Regions from separate parts of the Homo sapiens genome. Here region 1 is linked to region 2. Evidence: promoter capture Hi-C in 16 types of primary human blood cells and fetal thymus (Javierre and others, 2016). All regions are on one chromosome and are shown on one strand. The core of a region is centred on a gene start or on the middle of the fragment in contact, and the rest is flanking DNA. Distances in the headings are between cores, read along the strand shown.

Region 1 (4,890 bases), core at 2,337-4,836, about 11 Mb after region 2:
AGCTACATCTATAGCACTTGATCAATCATCTGGGAATCAAATATTTAATATACGCCTACCTTGGTTATGTTAGATGCTGATGACGCAAACTAAAGTTTTGCCTATCCTTTTAATTTATTCTGAAGTCCAACCAAATGTACAGTTCAACAAATATTTGGGTTTGATTTTATTTTTCCAATTCAATTGTTTCTTGCTGTCATTTGCTCTCTTTGGAAATTCCTAAAATACTGTTATGAATGTCCAACATTCTAATATATCAAATGTGCAACAAATATTATTAATTAATAATAACAACAATAGCTAACCTTTACTGAATACTTATTACTTTCAGGCACAACTATCTCATTTAATTCCCACAACAAATCTATGAGGGAAATACTATTATTACTCCCATATTACAGAGGAAGAAACCAAAGCAAAGAGATGAATTAAGTTCACATAGCCGTAAGAGGAAAAGCCTGGACTAAACACATATGTTCTGACTCTAGAGTTCATGCTTTTAACCATGATACTAACATAGTTTATATTTCCACTATGTAAGTTTCACATAAAATGGATAAATTGCCTTTTAAATATAAGATACTGAGAAACAAAACTATTAGAGCTATGTATCATTAGAACTCCAGAGAATGAGGCAAGATAGCTGGTTCTTAGTTTCTCTGGAGAGGTGTTCTTGCTCTCAGAAAGCTTGCAACCCAACTGGGGAATCAGAATATATTCTAAGGAAAACAATATACTGTGATATACAAAGGACTTGCTATGAAAGTTGAGGGGCGGCAGTAAGTTCTAAGGACCAGGCCATCATAAAAGGCTTGATGGAAGAGATAGGCCTTAAAGCAGGGATTACTCTGATAGGAGGAAGAAAAGAATTAGGGTGTTATAAGTAAGGAGAAGCATTTGAACACAATTATTGATGAAATGCTGTTACCAAAACACCAGGAGTTCCATCTATGTCTTGCTGCTTACCACCCAAAAAGTCAATCACTGAGACAATGATTATTGTCAAAGAAGAAGGCTTTAATCAGATGCTGCAGCCAAGGAGATGGGACATCAGTGTCAAATTCACCTTCCTCACTGACTAAAATTAGGGGTTTATATAACAGGGAAGAAATGTTAACTACGTATGAGAAAACAGGAACTAAGGAAGGGTAAGGAAACAATAACGAAGAATGAGGGGTCTGGCATATCACTGTCTAGATGCAGTAATCTGGTGAGTTTCAGCTCTTTGATACTTGTTGAGAGGTCTGGGCATCCTTTCTTGAGGAAGGAACTGAGATAAAGATCAACAAAATGTGGCTGGGCGCAGTGGCGCATGCCTGTAATCTCAGCACTTTGGGAGGCTGAGGCAGGCAGATTGCTTGAGCTCAAGAGTTCCAGACCAGCCTGGCCAACATGGTGAAACTCCATCTCTACAAAAAAAAATACAAACATTAGCCAGGCATAGTGGCATGCACCTGTGGTCCCAACTACTTGGGAATCTGAGGTGGGCAGATGACTTGAGCCTGGGAGGTAGAGGCTGCAGTGAGCTGAGATCATGCCACTGCACTCCAGACTGGACACCAGGGCAAGACTCTGTCTCAAACAAGCAAACAAAAAGATAAAACAAATGCAAGTTTCAAGCTTTCAGAAAAGAAGTGTCCATTTCTATGTTTATTAATTTAAAAAACCCCAATAAACAAAACTAAACAAACAAACAAAACCCTGTCTATGGGACTGTTGGGTTGATTTCAGTACCATGAAAAGATCCAATTGTTTAAATGTTTAATGTATGGAGATAATAGGGGAGGTTGGAAAAGTAAGGATCATATTGAAGAGGTAACTTGAATGCTAGGTTAAGGAGTTAGGACTTTATTCTCTAGACCTGCCCTGCTGGATACAGTAGCCACTAGTCACATGTGGCTACTGAGCATTTGAAATGTGCTAGTTCAAATTGAGGTGTGTTCGGGCACAATACATACCAGCTTTTGAAGACTTAGTAGGAGAAAAGAATGTAAAGTATCGCCTTAATAATTTTTAGATTAATTAATTTTGTAGCTTGCACTTACGGCTTACATTATATTTCTATTGGAAAGTACTGCTCTATAAAATGAAAAATGAAGGAAGCTTAATGATCAGAAATTTATGTAAAAATTGTTTTAAGAAGTTTATTTTGGTATAAGCAGAGTGTAAGACAACTGTTCTCATTCAGTAAGCCAATGGCAAGTAAAGAAAAAAACAAGGTTCTAGTGAAGAAATGGGACTGCTATAATTTAAAAGATATTTAAGAGACAGAACAGCTAAATGGAAAGTGTACATTTTGTCTGATTCTGAGTCAAGCAAACCAACCAGAAAAAGACATTTTCAATTAACCGTGGAAATGTAAGTAAGGTCTAGATATTATGTGACAGTCCAATAATGACATTATGGAGATAAAAGAAAAAGTTGGTACATTTTAGGGATGCAAACTAAAGTATGTAGAGATGAAATGACAAAATATTTGGTATTGCTGGGGAAAAAAACTATTTCTTACTTTCCAAACCCCAATAAATAAATAAGGTAACACAATAACCTAATAAATAGTAAATCAAAATAAAATGCTTTTGCTGTAAAAAACAAAAAACCTGGAGTACCGGAGCATATCTACCTACACAAGGAAGAACCAAGCTGTGGACAGAAGGGAGTTTGAGGGCTAGAGATGTTCAAGGTGGCATCATTCTGACAGTACTGTTTAGAAAAGCATTCACCACACTACTTAATTCCATTGCTTTAGGTATTTTCATGAGGCCACACAAGAAAGTATGATGCAGCCAGGACTAAAACCAGATGCTCTTTGTATCTGCCTTTAAACATGACAAAACCCTGTGGAGAACCTAATCTATGCTTTCATCTTTAGATTTTTAAACTTGCTTGTTTCATTCAGTTATTCTTTATAGTTCATAACATCATTAAATAACTGATCATATTAGATTATTTTATTTATTCTGCTTAAGTTTATCTTGACTGCTTCTCAAACTCAGATTGGTAGAAGTTTAAAAAAGAAGGAAAGCAAAATCAAAGCAGTAACAACAAAACCATTTTAACATCTCCAAGTGAAATTTATGTCATGCTGGCCAAAAATAAGATGTAGTTTTCATCTCCAGGTACAATGCTAGGAAGAGGTGTTAATGTAAAGTAAGCAGCACAAAGAAGTAATAAAAGGAAACACAGGAATCAAGAAAGGGAGAAGAAAGAAAGGTGAGAAAAACACCACCACCACCACCACCACCACCACCAGCAACAATAACAAACCCCAACAGTGCCCATATGCAGTGCCCCCTAACTGCTTCGAAGAAGAACAGTTCATTCTGCTTTTTTCTGTAAGCTTGAAAGATAGCATAGCTGCCCTGGGAATGTGTAGACTTGCTGAGTCCTTGTTCTGCCCCTACCCAACTAGCTGTTTGGCCTTGATCCTTGATTTCTTTCCTCATCTATAAAGTGGGAATAATGGCACCTGCCTTACTTGTCTCACTGGGTTGAAATGAAAGCGAAGTGAAATAGCAAATGTGAAAGAATTTTGGAACGTTTTTATGTTGTAAGTTGGTTGCTAAGGTCTAAAAGAAATATTAATAATTACGTCGAATATCTTCTGCAGAAAAAATTAAACCGACCCCATCCCCCGCACATCTAGCCCTACCTGGCATAGGTTTTAGTTCTTTTAATTTTCGAATTAGAACATTGTAAAGGAACTGTAGGGACGAGAGTGGCATCAGGTCTCCTCATCCTTCTCACATCCTTGCCCCCGCACCCCTCTCTCACCCCAGAGTTCAAGCACCAACCGAAAAGATTGAGAGTAGCTCAGGGTACGGTAAACGGAGGAAGCTTTGAAAAAGGCGGGGAAAGCCTGGGATGGCGAGGGGGTGCTCGCTGAGGAGGAGGAGAGAAGCGACAGTCGCGGGGCCCGGAAAAGAGAGACTTAGAGCGAAGCCAAAGGCGCCTTTCTTCACAGTTTGGGAACTTACTGGTAGTAAACGCCACTCCATAGAAGCGGTGACCGGTTACCATAGAGACCGCGTCGGGGTGGGCGGAGCGTCGCTTCTGAGCTGTGCCACGGCCACATCAGCTCGGCCAGAAACGCGAACACGTCGGAACAGTGACTTCCGGCGGAAGAAGAAGCCGGTCCGGAGTTCTGGCCGACAGCAGGCGAGGAGTGGGTAGCAGCGCCTATGTGAAGTTAGGTAGGTCTGATGTCGTATAAAGCGCGGAGAGGGTGCCCGCCAATGGCTGGGTGGGTAAAGCCGACTGTGAATGGAGAAGATTCCCAAGTCCCGAGCTTGAGGAGGCCCCGGCTGTTTCGTTAAGTGTATATAGCTGTGGGAAGAGGTTGCCTGATTTCTGGGGCTCCTGGTAGGGTCTCTCTTCTGGAGCGTGGAAGACTGGGGCATCCTCGCGTAGAGAGTTTCACTCTGTCTTTGCGAGGTCTCAGCGCCTCTCCAATAACAGGGGACTCTTGTTCTCTACCAGCTGGTGCTGACGTTATTTCCCATATCATGCTCTCCAGACAATCTGGAGGAAAAGCAAACGAGAAACTTTCAGAAGGAATGCCCCCAAATTTATTTTAATTCTTTGATGTTCTGTTTTGCTTTTTTTTTATTCGTTCATTTTGTAAATATTCATTAAGCTCCTCCAGCGTGTTTAGTGGGTGCTTACTTGTGTGCCAGTTTTATCATAAGACTAGCAGAAATACCTTCTTAGAGGTTCATACACCACCTGGTTCATTATAAAATTCTTTTTTTTAATGCTGTTCATTAATTAAAGTATAAATATATATCGTGAAATACCTAACACGTTTTCCATACTTGTCGGTACACTTATACCTGGAATTCTTGGGGCATTTTAAATGAAAATCTGTGCTTCCTCAGGTTTGCATTATAA
Region 2 (5,042 bases), core at 1,518-4,017:
GGTGAGATATGAACTTACTAAGGAACAAGACTCTGGCCCAATCACTCCTCCACAATGGGTGTTAACTTGTTTTATTGTCAACACTGAATGGACTGGGTGTTCCATTTAGTACTAAGGGATTCAGGAAGTTTTCCACCAAATGTTACACAGACAGAAAAAGTTTATGTTGGAAGGATGAAGGGAAAAGTTGGATGGGCCCAGGTAATCAAGTGTTCATTAATTCATTCAGCAAATGCTTATTCAGTGCCTTTCATGTGCCACTGAGCACACAGGCACTGGGGATGCATCCATGAACGATGACTCCAACTCAAGAGAGCCAGCAGCTATTCTGGCAATGTCCTAGGATGTAAGAAAGCTTCAAAATTAATATTTGGGCCGGGTGCGGTCAATCACGCCTGTAATCTCAGGACTTTGGGAAGCCGAGGTGGGCAGATCACTTGAGGTCAGGAGTTCAAGACCAGTCTGACCAACATGGTGAAACCCTGTCACTACTAAAAATATAAAAATTAGCCAGGCATGGTGGTGAGCACCTATAATCCCAGCTACTTGGGAGGCTGAGGCAGGAGAATCGCTTGAACCTGGGAGGTGGAGGTTGCAGTGGGACAAGATCGCACCACTGCACTCCAGCCTGGGCAACCGAGCGAGACTCTGTCTCAAAGAAAAACAAAAACAAAAACTAATATTTAATGGATTCTGTCCTCTAGGAATTTACAATTAAGGGAGAAAAGTACATTTAGAAGTACATTTAGCAATAATATAAGGCATCATTTTTATTCAGTGAATACATTCAGTATCTATTAATACTATGGGCCAGGCCACATATTATGTGCCAGAGAAATGAAAGTAAAGAGACATGGCCCTTACTTACCCTTATTGTTCAGTGCTGTGGGGTATCACCAAAAAAGAAAAAAAAATCAAGTAAGCAAATGGTGGGTGCTAAGAAACTAACAGGATACTCCTGAAATAATGGTGGAAACTATTTTAGAAATGGCCTGAGGAAAGTGTTTCTGGTTGAGACCAAAGGGACCTACCCATGTGTAGAACATTCAATGATTAGCAGTAAATAAAAGGCTTAAGGGTGGGACCCAAGGTGAAGGGTTCCATTGGAAAGAGGCAGGATTATGCAGGGCCTGATAGGCCAATTAGATAAACTCTGCTAGAGCCTGGGGCACTCCCTCCTAAGCAAGAATTCTGGGCCGGGCGGTGGCTCGCGGGCAGGTGGATCACCTGAGGTCGGGAGTTCCAGACCAGCCTGACCAACATGGAGAAACCCTGTCTCTACTAAAAATCCAAAATCAGCCGGACGTGGTGGCGCATGCCTGTAATCCCAACTACTCGGGAGGCTGAGGCAAGAGAATCGCTTGAACCCGGAAGGTGGAGGTTGCGGTGAGCCTGAGATCGTGCCATTGCACTCCAGCCTGGGCAACAAGAGCGAAACTCCGTCTCAAAAATCAAACAAAAAAAAGTTCTATGGTTTGAAGAGATATAAGGAAAGGAAGAAAGGGACGTGGCATGAGGCAGGCAGGGGAACATTTGTGTTCTTCCCCACACAGCAGCCAGATTGTTACTTTCTCAACACATCTGAGAGCATCACTCCCTGGCTTAAATAGTTATGTCTGAGCACTTTACATGTATTAACTCGTTTTATCCTTACTGTAGTTCTGAAGTTAGTCCAGGTTTTTTGTTTTTTGTTTTTTTTTTTTTAAGATGGAGTCTTGCTCTGTTGCCCAGGCTGGAGTACGGTGGCACAATCTCGGCTCACCACAAGCTCCGCCTCCCGGGCTCAAGCAATTCTCCTGCCTCAGCCTCCCAAGTAGCTGGGATTGCAGGCGCGTGCCACCACACCTGGTTAATTTTTGTATTTTTAGTAGGGACAGGGTTTCACCATGTTGGCCAGGCTGGTCTCCAACTCCTGACCTCAGGTGATCCGCCCGCCTCAGCCTCCCAAAGTGCTGGTACTATAGACGTGAGCCACCGTGCCCTGCCCAAGTGCAGTTATTATCCTTGTTTTGTATTTGATGAAACTGAGGCAGAGAGAGGTCGAGTAACTTGCCCAAGATCACAGTTACAAAGTGACGTGGGTAGGATTCAAACCCAGCAGGCTGCCTCTAGAGTTCACGTTCTCACTTAACCAAAGATTAAAATCCGTCTTGGGGGGTTTGACACCTATCTGTCCCTGCAGTAGACCCACCCTGGCCCATGCAGTTCGTTCCCTCTCGCCAGCTGCACCCCCTCCAGGACCTGGGAGCCCAGAAACCAGCCGAGCCTCCAGCGTTTGGCCTCCTCCGCCACCAGAGGGCGTCATGGGCCGATCGCCCCTCCGCTAACCGCTCATCCCAGGAAAAAGGGGCGCACAGAGGACAGGATGCCAACCCCAAAACCGCAGCGACGTCTCTCTGCCTTGGGGCTCACAGCAGCGGGCCGCGACCTCCCACTAACGCCTGCCGCAACCCAAGGAGGAGACAAAAGTCATCTTCCGGGCTGCAACATTAACCGTCATCAGCGCGCCTCTTCAGCGCGCACTGCGCCAACCCTGCGGCAGGAGGAGGCGGAGCCCCCGCTCTCGCCCCGCCCCCACCTCACGTGACCCGCACGGCGCCTCGAGGCCGGAAGCGATTGCGAGCCAGCGCGCGCGCTTCGGCGTTCCCGGCGGTCTGCGAAGTTTCCGGAGCCCGGGTCCCGCCGCGGGTTCGCGCTTGTGCTCGCGCTCGTTCCTGGAGTCGGCGGCCGCTGCGCGCGCTCGTTGCCCAACCCGGTCCCCGCCCCCAGACACGCCGGGCTCTCGGGGCACCACAGCCATGTGCTCGTTAGCGTCAGGCGCTACCGGTGGGTACCCTGGCCCCTCAGCACCCGGCTCGTCCAGCCCCAGGCCGCGCCGCTGTGGGGCCGGTGGAAGACCCTCCGGGACACGGGCCCGGGCAGGGTGGGGGGCTCGCAGGGATCATGAAGGAGGTGCTGAGTGAGGGCCGCGGGCGAACGGGGCGGAGGAGAGCCCATCGTCACCTGCTCCTCGAGCCCCCGGGCCGCACCGGTGTCCGAGGCCGATCTGATTGTTGTGTGTGTGTGTTAGGCGGCCGGGGCGCTGTGGAGAATGAGGAGGACCTGCCAGAACTGTCGGACAGCGGGGACGAGGCCGCCTGGGAGGATGAGGACGATGCAGATCTCCCCCACGGCAAGCAGCAGACCCCCTGCCTGTTCTGTAACAGGTTCGTCCGCCTCAGCGCCTGGCCTCTGCCCTAGGGTGCCCGGGCGCGTGGGGTCTGTGTGCCCAGGAACGCCTTCGGGCGGGAGGCAAGCCAGAGTGGCCTGTCTTTGAATTCTGGAACCACTGGTCTGGGGTGAGGGCTTGTGGAGAAGGAGGACCCTCGGTAGTAGAGAGGGGGAACCGTGAACTGGAAGGCCGGTTGTACTGCAAGCTTTTGACTGGTAGTGCATTGAATCTGTGGTTCCCAAATCTTGTCACTTGAGACGCTGAAAACAAAATGATACTGAACTCTGCACCTGAATCCTTCCAAGTCAGGGATGGGGTCTAAGAATATTCTGTTTTTATGAGGACAAGATCGGAAGTAACAGTGAAGTTACTAACGAGTTACTACTAACGAGTAACATATTTGGCAGCCACCCTGAACTAGATAATCCCTACGGAGCCTTCCGGCTTTACCATGCTAATTCTTTGACCAGTACAGAGCTTCTCAGGTGAAACATTTCTTTTTTATTTGAGCGGTTTCCATAGTCTAAGAAGGAAGTTCACCTTACTTAAGTAGGACTTTTCACTTAAGGAAAAAGACTGTAGTATCAATAATTTGCTCAAGGTCACAAAGCTGTGGTGTGCTTATTTCCAAACTCACATTCTTGCCACTTAAAATTCTGCCTGTTAGTCTTGGGAAGCTTTGGCTCCTGTCCTAGGCAAGTAGGCATGAAAGAGGCCCGGTTGGCATTGGCCGGTGTTACTTTAATACATTTTCCAGTGTTCCCTGTATCTGGGCATGGTGCTGAGTGGTGGTGCGTTAGTGTTCTCATCTGTAGCCCCATTGGGTAGATAGAATGCCTGTATATATTCTAGTTGTCATAAAATATTTATTGAGCACCAGTGGTACCGTGGCTGTGATAGCCTCCATAAATAGTCGACATAACCTATCTCGGTAAACATTTGTGGAAAACTAATGCTCCACATGTGTTAGGAATATAGATAAGGTATACAGCTTCTCTGCTGTGTATTCCTGTCTTTAAGTAGCCTTCAGATTTGCATGTCACATAATAAAGAGGATTGATCCTCACAGTGTCTGTGATGCAAGTACGTTGGGAATACTACAAGATCACTTTTGAAATAAGGCACTTGGGGAGTATGCCAGCTGTAAAATTACATTTTATGCTTTATTTCTAAAAGCAGTTTGAGCTGTGCCAGTTCAAAGCCTCTGAAAGCAGAGTTGACACTTAGAGGAGAAAAGAATCTCAAGTAGAGAAATTGTATGACTTGAGAGAAACAGACTCTATCAAAGGGAACTCTCTTAAAAGCCTTTTGATAAAATCAGTGATATTATTTGACAAATAAATTCACTTTGACATTTAAAGGATAATTGGTTTTAGGTATAAAATGGGACTCAGAAGTACTAATTCCCTTTAAAAGTGCTGGATTCCCTTCCTTTCAGATACAAGTGTGTTTGTTTTTTCTTAATTGGAAGTAAAACTAGAAACCAGCAGAGTTAAAAAAAAAAAAAAAGTGTATATGTAACATGAAATCAGTATTTAGACTTCTTAGGGGACTATTCCATGAAGCTATTGCTTGATTTTTCAGGTTATTCACATCTGCTGAAGAAACATTTTCACACTGTAAGTCTGAGCATCAGTTTAATATTGACAGCATGGTTCATAAACATGGTGAGTAGTTTTTAGAATAAAGGCAATTTAATTTGTGAAATTTGGGCAGGCATGGCAGCTCACACCTGTAATCCCAGCACTTTGGGAGGCTGAGGTGGGTGGATCACTTTAGGTCGGGAGTTCAAGACCAGCCTGGCCAACATGCTGAAACCCCACCTGTACTA

Evidence for each region. The method cuts DNA at HindIII sites, captures the fragments that hold promoters and counts their contacts. A CHiCAGO score of 5 or more calls a contact.
Region 1: a fragment that was not itself captured here is called in contact with the fragment with the promoter of PRMT3 in region 2 in 1 of 17 cell types (activated CD4 T cells); the score reaches 5.5 in activated CD4 T cells.

The regions. Positions count from the first base shown.
Region 1 is chr11:31,365,720-31,370,609 of GRCh38, forward strand. It overlaps DCDC1 (doublecortin domain containing 1), which reads right to left and starts at 4,020. Exons shown (of 39, transcript NM_001387274.1): 1 at 3,978-4,020. It overlaps DNAJC24 (DnaJ heat shock protein family (Hsp40) member C24), which reads left to right and starts at 4,141. Exons shown (of 5, transcript NM_181706.5): 1 at 4,141-4,193. RefSeq lists an enhancer at 3,954-4,433. The HindIII fragment of the contact is 497 bases long and covers 3,339-3,835 here.
Region 2 is chr11:20,384,949-20,389,990 of GRCh38, forward strand. It overlaps PRMT3 (protein arginine methyltransferase 3), which reads left to right and starts at 2,768. Exons shown (of 16, transcript NM_005788.4): 1 at 2,768-2,826; 2 at 3,071-3,206; 3 at 4,796-4,878. The coding sequence starts at 2,799. RefSeq lists silencers at 1-162, 2,479-3,038 and enhancers at 95-596, 2,476-2,645, 2,519-3,126, 3,127-3,733, 3,589-3,638. The HindIII fragment of the contact is 3,061 bases long and covers 354-3,414 here.